Linked DNA regions of Homo sapiens: region 1 is linked to region 2. The links are contacts of gene promoters, found by promoter capture Hi-C in human tissues and cell types (Jung and others, 2019). All regions are on one chromosome and are shown on one strand. Each heading gives the region's core, a stretch centred on a gene start or on the middle of the fragment in contact. The rest is flanking DNA. Distances are from core to core; before and after follow the strand shown.

Evidence for each region. Contacts are between HindIII fragments. The study calls those that stand out against the background at their distance.
Region 1: a contact is called between a fragment that was not itself captured here and the fragment with the promoter of MEGF10 in region 2, in 1 of the 25 tissues and cell types used here (dorsolateral prefrontal cortex).

Annotation. Positions count from the first base shown.
Region 1 is chr5:127,426,097-127,431,298 of GRCh38, forward strand. The region is part of intron 13 of MEGF10 (multiple EGF like domains 10); the gene reads left to right. Among named protein-coding and RNA genes, the nearest start is that of PRRC1, 89 kb to the right of the region's middle. The HindIII fragment of the contact is 6,098 bases long and covers 1-4,931 here.
Region 2 is chr5:127,288,519-127,293,941 of GRCh38, forward strand. MEGF10 (multiple EGF like domains 10) reads left to right here and starts at 2,278. Exons shown (of 25, transcript NM_001256545.2): 1 at 2,278-2,538. It overlaps LOC105379199, which reads right to left and starts at 2,218. Exons shown (of 4, transcript XR_007058921.1): 1 at 2,060-2,218. The HindIII fragment of the contact is 12,500 bases long and covers 1-5,423 here.

The DNA.
Region 1 (5,202 bases), core at 633-3,132, 140 kb after region 2:
GTTCCTCTTTACAAAGGAATTGACATGACTAAATTGAGGAAGTCTCACCCTAAGGTGAGATGCCAAGGAAGATGGCTTGCTGTCTTACTGTGTACCCACATCCACCATTTCTTATAACTTCAACCCACTATCTAGCATTTGACTGTTCTCTCAAAGGAACTGAGGCTTTTTTATTTCTATTATAATTGATAGTCCTATTTTACCTAGTCATAAAATAAGTCCTCAAAATATACTGTTATGAAAAGTAAACAAAATAAAAGTTGTGTTTGACATTTTAGATCCTATTTCCAAAAAAAGTACCATTTTATTGTAGTATGTGGTTATTTAAAACCTTAATTTATTGTCATTTTTAGCCAATACACTATTTTATCAAAAAGAGGCAGATTGCAGTAGAAGAATGAGGAAAATGAAATACCATTCAGGATTTAGGCTGTGTCCTATGCTGCTTCTCCTACACCTCTGGACCTCTGGTACACACACACACTCTCTCTCTCTCTCTGCTATAAAATGAGGCTCGCTTTTCAAAATGATTATACTGAAATTTCAGATGTCAATGAAATATAATTATGAGTGTTTGTGTATACTTATGTATGTGTGTTTCCAGAGTAGTGGAGTGATATACTTTATAAAAGCATTTTCCCAAAATTACAGAAACAGGCTGAAGTTTATGTCTTCTTTTCTGCTCTGACTTCAGTCAGCCAGAACACCCATTTGCTGAGCATTACAGCTAATCAAGATTTCATTCCAGCTGACTGGGAACATGTGCAGTGTCCGGCCTCATTCCCAGCCCTGGCTAAGATCACTGTCACCTGGGAACTCTTCGAACTTGCATATTCCCAGTCCCCACCTCACACCTACTAAATGAGAATTTGGAAAGTGGCTGAGGAGGAGGAAGATTATGGAGCCTCTGCCCATCCAGAAAGCAACTTTGATACAAATTTGGAAAAGATTTGGAAATCCCTCAGGATGTACTCCTTGGCACATGAAGTGCAAGCCGGATTTCTGCCCCAACTTAGCCCCTTGGGCAGGGGCTCTTGCATAGTGCACAACTTGCAAAACCTTACTTGGTGGCTTTGTCTGCCCTGGTGACCCAGGCAGGCAGTGGCAGTTACGGTCTGCATAGTGGCATCTGCTGTGTCATATTACTCTAGTTATTGAAGAACTTGGGGTCTGGGGTGCATTTCTTTGACAGAAACCACATAATCAATGGCAAATGAGAAGAGGTGGTTCAAGGATGTGTTTATACCAGAATAAAAAAGTTAAACACTAAACAGATAAAAAGGAGAATAGGACACCCAATGAAACTCTAGGGGTCTTGAGAAAGAGAGGAGAGACTATCAAGGCATGGTATAATTGTAAGGGGAGGGGTAGGAGAATAAGAGGAGAGGTTGGGGGCTCATCTGAGCCCAGCCAGGAAGGGTGTAATCGGAAGGAGGATCACCTGTGGGCAAGTTGATGTGAAGAGCCCACTTCTCCGCTCTTCCCAGCAAGCAGAACTAGGCCTAGAGTGGCCGCAGCCTCCCTCCACAAGGAAAGCTCTCCTTTCCATGTTTTACCAAACAGCAAGTTTGACCAGCTGAGTGAGTGAGCTGCTACTTCAGGGACTAATCTGTCGTGAGGTGATGTCTCATGCAGCTAAGGGATGCCTGAACTGTTAAAATAAGGGGAGACCTACCTTCCTTTGTCCAGTGACATATAAGTGCAAATCCAAGTTGGAGGTAATAACTTTAGTCAAATGAGTTTAATTAACATGCCTGCACCCAATCAGCCACAAGTACAAATGACTCACTATCTGACCCTTTTGGGTATTGAGGGCTGGAGAGTGTGTCTGCAGGTTCATATGTATATGTCTGTCTGTTTGGTCTTGGGAGAGGGGATCATATAAAAGCAGAAGGCTGGGCCCCTGCTGTGAGGGTGAAGGGAGGTGCTCATTTCCCCCAACAAGAAAAGGCCACAGAAAAAACCAAAGCTCCAAGATCTGCCTAGCAATCCTTTCTACTTGCTTTTATCTGGGTCCAGACTGAGGCAGGCCATGGTGTCTGGTATTTTTTTTTTTTTTTTTTTTTTTGTCTTGCAAGTGCAAAGGCAAACACCTCTGATTTATATGACTTATTAAGACTTTTTTCAACTTTGTTGAACTATATAAAGCAGATTCTTTTTTACTGGGTCTTTAAAATCCATAGTATCCAAATAGAAAGATTTGGTTTAACAACCATTTGTTGAGTGTCTCCAGGTTCTATGCAACCATAATGCTTGGGTGCTGGGAACACAGAGAGGAAGTGAAGCCAACTCCCATCCTGCAGAAGCTCACATTGCATCAGGACAGTCGCTCTATCAGCAGAGATGGATATACCAGTGAATAACTTCTCTATACTACACCACACTATGCTGTACTACACTACACTACGCTACACTACACTACACTACACTATGCCACTGCTTTGTTGGTCAAAGGATTAGAAAAGCAGAAAAAGTGTTGTGACTAAATACTATAGTTCCTCCATCTTATAATTACCAAGCCCAATTATTATTAACAAATATCTCTCTTTGCTCTAATATATGTTTAATAGCTTGTTGCCCAGGAACTAGACATAGAATCAAAATAATTTCCTTCATTCACTAACGCTCCAAATATTGGAATACTGGCATAAGGAATATAAGCAATTAAGTAAGACAAGGATTTGGGGTTATATCTATGAGAGGGGAAAGAATGACACCCCAGATGATTTATTTACTGCATTCATGCAATCACAAATGCCCAGTGAATGCTGATTTCACATTGAGGCCGCTGGCATAATGCATCAGGCATTAATTGCACGAACATTTCTTTAGAGCTGCTTAGCTGAAGTTTATCACGATCATTCAGCCATTGCCTAGCAACTTGTGGAGGCTATCAAAGAGCTCTTTGTTCTCAGTCGTGGCAAAAACAGTCCCTTACAGATCTCCTTATCAGCATTAGAACATTTATCAGAAAAGAAATGCTCCCATTGAACCAGAGATGGCTGCAGATTTAAACCTACCCCCTTCCCACGTTGCCCCTTCTTCCCAATATTTTAGAAGTTATTTCCTGAACTATTAAAGTTTCTATCTGTTTTTTGCTAAAACTTCTGAAGGAATTTCCTTAAGATGTCATATAATTCCTTTATGGCCTAATAATCTGGGCTTACATGTAAAAACACAGACCTGAGCCCCTAAATGTGTATCTGCTCAAGAATAAGCAAGGCAGACATCTCCACCTCCTTAGCAGGGAAGGGTCACCATTTTTGATATACAACCTATAAATATGTTGGGCTTCCTGGTTTGAGTGAAGACTTATTCAGGAAAGCAAAGAATGCTGTGGTTGCTCCATCCCATTGGAAAGTGGTCCTGAATATCATACAGGAAATAGGAATTATGTGTATCGATTCATTCAACAAATAAATTTATTTAACACCTCCCATGTGCTAGGTGCTATGGTGAGCAAAAACAGGCATTGTCTCTCCCTCAGGGAGCTGCCAGAATTAATTACCTTTGGTGGAGAATTGGAGGGGAGTCTTCATCTGCATTTTCTTCTATATCTCTCCAGAATTCCTCTTCCCCGCATCTCTGCTGACATTGACTTAGTTTCATGCCTTGTCACTTTGATCATTTTTTTTATTTGGGGAACCCCAAATGGGGGTTCTGCAGGTAAAAGAGCACCTGACAGGTTTTCTTTCTTCCCAGGCTCAACATCTTCTGGCCATCTTCTGCCCTCCTATAAAGCACAAATTTAGTTGTGCCCCTTCCTTCTTAAAATTGTTCATTTGGTCCCTGTTAACACCAGGGGGAGGTTCACACTCTATAGCATGGCGCTCTTGGCTCAACTCAACTTGGCCACTGCTTGGCTGCCCAGATGTCTCACCTGCTCTCCCCAGCCCCTGAGTTTTAGCTGTACCCAACACTTGCAATTCCCAAAGGACAGACACTTCTTTGGGCCTCTGAGCCTTGCCACCACTGTTCCCTTAGCCTGCAGTCCTCTTCCCCCTTCACAAGCTACCTCCCTTCCTGATCATGATCCCCAGGCAGAGCAGGGTGTGCCTGTTCTGTGGTCATTATCACCCTGGGGTTACATTTTTAAGAAAACTTCTCACAGCAAACCAGTAGCTGGCCAGATCCCTTGAATGTTTGCTGAGTTGGGTTTCCTTTTCTGCCTTTGACAAACAAAGAAACAAAAAGATGTTTTGTAGGACCCTAGCAAAGCTGGCAAAAAATAAGAGGAGATAAATATAAATAATACACATGTACCCACACAGAGCCAGAAATAATGGTTAAAGCAAAACTTACAACTCTTCATCCTGGAGAATATTTCATTGCAGGGTTATCCTTACATGGAAGTCACATCAGCAGTCATATACCTGGTGCGACTTAGAGAAACACTTACCCAACACTCTCTTAGTGATACTTACTGCCTGAAATTCCACAATTAGATATTTATTTCTTAGGCTCTTAGAATGCATGCTCTCTTAGAATATCAATATTCTCCAGAGAAGGTACTACTCAGCAATAATAAATGTATCTTGTCCTTTTCTGACTGTAAGATGAAGGGAAAAATAACTAGGAGGGCACAGAGGGCCAGAAGGGGAGAAGCAGCAATAGGAGAAGAGGGTACAGCAAGAGGAGGAAAGACAACTCCACACCTTTCCCTGGAATTGCCCCCTAACTGAGACATACTTGATATTTATCTTCACATAGATTAGGCATTAGTATCTGCAAAATGCTGACTCATTTTTTACTGATGACAGAGTAAATAAAAGGGCTTGAATTTTTAAGAGGGTGTTGGTAATAGAATTTTTATAATTTATATTCAAAGGAAACATTTCTTTGCAATTCTAAACTAAAAGTTATTTTCAAGTAAGCTTGGGTCTGTTGAAAGATGCTTATATGATTGGACACAGAAGGTTTGATCAATGATCTATAGAATTTGCTATGATTCTCTGGAAATGAAATGATGGGTAAACCATATGAAACAAGCTTATCTCTGCAGTGGATCTTCTTGCTATAGGGTGGGCCTTGTTACTTATACAAACATTACCAGGATATAGTTGATTATGACTGATGGCTAGGCTAATCAGCTGAACAAACCTCTTAAGGGAAGAAGAATAAGTTATGAAAGAGAGGATCTCTTTATTCAGATTTGCCTATCTGGCCTGTAGTCATTTTTCTTACCATGCTCTGATTGAGAAT
Region 2 (5,423 bases), core at 1,028-3,527:
AACGCAAATTAAAACCACGATGTGATACCACTATATACTTACTAGAATGGCAAAAATAAGAAGACAGAAACTACCCAGTGTTGATGAGGATGTGAAGCAATTATCATATCTTGCTGGTGAGAATGTAAAATGTTTTCCACTTTGGAAAGCAGTTCATCTTTCTATATAGTTAAACACACAGTTACTGTAATAATAATTTTACTCCTGTAAGATAAGAAAAATAATAATGTATGTCCACAAAAGGACTTGTTAAAGATTGTTCCTAGCAGCTTTATTCATAATAACCCCATATTGAAAACATCCCCAATGTCCATCATTTGGTAAACTGGCAAACAAATTGTGGTATATCCATACAATGGAATACTACTCAGCAATAAAAAGGAACAAACTTCAGATACAGGCACAACATTAATGAGTTTCAAAAACATTGTGTGGAGTGAAGGAAGTCAGACACAAAGGAATATGTAAGTGATTCCATTCATATGAAATGTTAGAAAAGACAAATCTAATCTGTAGTTACAGAAAACAGCTAAGCGGGCCAAATATGAGGTGGGATAGAAGTTGACTTTAAAGGGGTGCAAGACAACCCTCTGAGGTGATGGAATTGTTCATTATCTTGATTGAAGCAGTGGTTACATGGGTGTGTACATTATTCAAAACTCATGAAGCTGTATAATTAATATGAGTGTAATATATGGAATGTAACTTATCCCCCAATAAAGTTGATTAAAAAATTAAAAGGAAAGTGGGGCAACCAAGTTTCATAAAGCAAAATATCTTTGGGTAATAAGTGGCATGAACTAACAGCCAATTTCCTTAGAAAACAGCCATATGGATTAATCACCTCTAGAATTATTTGTGCCTGTGCTGCCCAGATCAAAGTTCCAACTCCTGGCAGAGAGGGCCTGAGGGGCTTAGCTGAGGTCAGTTGCTCTCTTCTGGACAGGGAAAAGCTGGACCATCCTGACTGACCTTCCACCCAGACTGCTGTCCTTGTGGCAGGGATGGTATCTCAAAGAAAAATGGAGGTACTGTTACCAGAGAAGGGGCAATGATGACTGCTAAACAAACAAATAAACAAACACCAAAACAGTCTTCCCCTGTGTATTTCCAGGGAGAGTAAAGAGGATGGTGAGGGGCTTCAAACATATCTATGTTCATTCATTCCATTCATTTATTCACTCAAACATAATATGGAGTCTGTACTATTTTCCAGGAGCGTTATTGAGTAGGGACTCGAACGCTCTTGAAGTCTCTCTAAAAAGAAAGAGTTCTTATTAATGGGAGGAAGAGAAGCCTGGTAGGAGATGGTTACCTGGAGTGGTTATGGGGCTTAAACCTGTTTTTGTTTTTTTGTGGGGAGAGGGGGATAGAATTCAACGACACAAGAAAGAACTTTGCAGCAGTCAAATTTGTATCTTTTGGGGTCCTGTAAAAGCTGGAAAACTCTTTAGTCTGGAAGAGGAAGATGGACAGTCAGAGAAGCAGATTCCAGAATTCATGTCCTGTCTAACCCACAAATGGAAAAGCCCGTTCATGGTTTTAACATTCCATCACTGGGCCTCCCGGGGCCTCCTCGGCGAGTCGGCAGAGGGAGCCATTCCCCAATAAATTGCCGCGCGAGGCCTCCGAGGACCTGGGGGGATTTTCCTGCGCGTCCGGGGAGTTCTCTCTCCGCCCCTCCATGGTAAAGCAGACTATCCCACCCTCCACCCTCTGCCTTCACCTCCCCGCCCCACCTTTCCATGTACTTTGCTGCCACATCACATTCTCTGGCACGGCTTAATCACCATCCTTTCTGGGTCCCACCTTTGCGCTTTCTCCCCTGACACCACTGAGGACCCGCCGTCCACTCCAGTTGGCCGCTCGGGCGCCGGCCACCGTCCCACAAATCCTTACAGAGGGTCTAGAACACCTCCCAGGGACTCTGCCGAGGGACTTGCACCCAACGTGGGTTGGGAATCAGGCGGGCACCCACTCTGACACCCCTTCGGTCACCCCCTGCGGTGACCCCAACATTTGCTAACTTCGCGACCAGGCCTTTGGCGGGGTCACCCACCAGGCGGTGGAAGCCGCTCAGGCAGGGGCGACTCACGATCGAGGTGCAGCAGTCAGGCCGGGAAGATCCTGCATGTTGCGCTAGGGACTGCGCGCGGCGCCAAGCGACAACCCCCCAGCGGCCACTGCCCCGGCAGCAGCAGCTGCAGCAGCGGCAACTGCTCGAATCCCGGCCCCGGCTCGGGTTACCCGCCCCCACCCCCTCCAGCATCTCGGGCCAGACAGAGAAAACCTTGTTCAAGTTTGCAGCAAGTACTTTCCCGGTGCGCAAAACTGGGCGACTGGGAACGCGTTGAGACGTTCCTCTTTCCCGCTTCTCCACCTTTACGCCTGAAAGAAGACTCCCAAAGATTGCTTTCTTCTGGGACGCTGCTTGGACGCTAACCGCGTTGATTGGAACAGATTTTGTGTCTTGGCTGGCTTTGGGTGAAGACCGGGGAGAAAAGGTTGCGCTGCGATTCTCAAGATCTCTGGACCTGGGTAAGAGTTGGGCAAACTCAACTCCGGCGGCTCCTGGACCTTGGCCGGACGCCGGAAGGCTTCTCATGGGCGGGGGTCACATTTTCCTTAGCCAGGGTACCGGGGTGCGGCGTGAGGTGGGGCGAGATGGGCTCAGTCTGCGTTGTTCATGCGCTTCTTAAGGGTTTATTGTTGTTTGCATTTGGTTTTGTTACATGGGATTGTGTAGGAAAATCCTGGAGTATTTTTGATGGAGAGACATCCTCATTACGCATTTTATTTTGCATAATTCCTGCCCTTGTATTGCCTTACCTTGTGTTTGTTTCATTTTGCCGGGCGATATAGCTGGATGTAGGGAGATTTGTGGGGAATCGGACTGAGCTTGAAAGGCAGTTTCAGCTGGGCCCTTTCTTCTAGGTCAGTTGAACTTCCTTTCTGGGATCTTCACTGTTTTCTAAACTTCTCTTTCTCCCGTCCTTGGTATTCAGATTGTGCAGATAACGCTCTAGGCTGGCGGGATGCTCCCCTTTCCTGAGTTCTCAGCGATCAGTAGGGGTGTGAGGTCGCAGTCTTAGACCAAAGGGGCCTTGTCAGTATGCTTGGCTCCTTAAGGAGTGCTGGGAGGGACGGTTTTTCAAGTGATAGTTACTTAAGAAAGATAAATCCGGTGTTGATCTTTTTCTTTTAAATTCCTTGTTAGAGGACTTTTACGCCTGGTTTAAGGAAGTGTTTTGGCCTTAATTTTCTTTCTGGAAGTATTTTTCTTAGTGACACCACTGAGCAAATGAATGATGGCAATATCTTTGCTGCTTCTTTAGAAAATATCCTCACGCAAGGACCCACATTATTTAGGAGAAAGTCAAAGTTGGAGATCTTATTAGCCAAAATTAGCCATTATTATTGTTCTTAGGCTGTGATAACCATGCTGTGCCAAGGCAGAAGAGAATGACATTTCTTCTTGTTCTTCTTGCCTTACTCCTTTATATCCTGGGTCTCACTTTGTGTATAGGGTTCCCAAATAAAAATGCTTCATTCCTTATGGACAGAAATACTGGGGCCAATTTATATTATCCAGAAATGTCATCTTCCTGACACGAGTGCTCCAAGAGGTCAGCTTGCAGGGAACTTTTAATTTTACCACTGAGAGTTCAAAGAGTTCAGTTGGTAAACTCTGGGCACCCGCCAGCCTGGGTTCAGCTCACAACTCTGCCACTTTTCAGTTCTGTGATTTTGGGGTAAGTTACTTAATCTGTTTATCCACATATGTAAAATCAAAATGATAATAATAGCACTTACATCAGACAATTGTTAAAGGGATTAAGTAAGTTAATGCATGTGAAGGACTAACAAGCCTGACACATAGTAGGCACAAATTAGCTTTATTATTATTGTATAGCTAGCATTAACTATTGTTGTATCCCTCTAGTATAGCTTCTATTAGCTGTCAGTAAGTGTTAGCTATTATTCCTATTTGGATGGACTTTGAAGACTGTGCTCATCTGTAAGCTTCACTACCACCTATTGTCAAACTTAGCTCAGACATGATCTTTGTATTGCTTTTTTGTTGTGGCACTTTCAGTTGGAAAAATAAAGGTGTATATGGCAGAGCTGGAATTTATAGGGTGGTGGGTCATGGATGGGCACCAAAGACTACTTGGAACAGGTGAGGAGGTGGGAAATCTACACTCAGTTCACAGCCTGTATACCTCCTTGGAAATCCTTTACATTAATATACTTTCTTTAACCTATTTTTTAGAGGTCACTCATTTGTTCAGTAAGTATTTATTAACCATCTATTACATGTCAAGCACTGTTTTAGGTTTTATATTTTAAAAATGGCTATGCATGAGTATTGGCTTTATGTGCCTCCTCCCATTTCAAGTGTGTGACCTAGCACTCTATAAATTAAATCCCAAGTATTTTTAGCTACACAATTTCCATACCTGTTAAAATGCTCATAAGAGCACATAAAAAGCACGTATCATTGAGAAATTGAACAAAATATTCCCTATGACCTCAAGCAGATTGCTTTTCTCCATTTAGGCATCAGTTTTATTATGTATAAACTTGTGTTGAGAGGTGGGGAAAGAGTAGAATAACCTCCAGTGTTCCTTCTGGCTCCAAAATCCTTAAATTAGCTGCCTTACTTCATTGGTGGCTGTTTTTGAACCCCCACTTTTCTCTTTTAACATTTGTTTTAGGTACATAAATTACGTTACTTCCATCTTTGCATATTCATCAAAGTGAGTAACAACATCGATAATTAATGAAAAGGGAAAAGCGTTTATCTCTGTCTGTCTTTCACTATTCTCAGACTTTGGTTTATACCAGAAGCATGAAGTGGGGAGATTTGTTAAAATATTAGAGTGAACTATGAGAAATTGCTGATATTTGACCATTTTTGACCTAAATAAATGGCAATTTTGTATGGTTCAAACTATACAAACCCTAATCCCTTCTGCCTTGATTTAGAAGTAGTAAGTCTTCTGTGAGTTGTGAGAAGTCTGCATTTTTACAAGTTCCCCAGGTGATTCTAATGCAAAACTCAAGTCACATGCTCATTTAGCAGCAGTGAATTTACCTTCTTTGTGATTGTCTGCTTGGTTTAATAGTGTATTTCTAAAATGCAAATCTGATCATGTTATTCCCTTGTTTAAAAATCTTTGGCAGCTCTCTGGATGGTGAATGTCAGTGTTACCTGGGTGCATGTTGAAAATATAGATTCCAGGGCTTCACCCCAGAAGTAAGGGCCAGTAATCTGCATTTTGAGATCTCCAGGTGAACCTGGTAAAGCTGACGTCAGATCACATTTGGAGAAACACTGGCTTACAGCATAAAGTCTCACCTCCTTACCGCTATACACAAGACCACCTTTGCAGCACTTCTCAGGGTTATTTTCTGCTTCT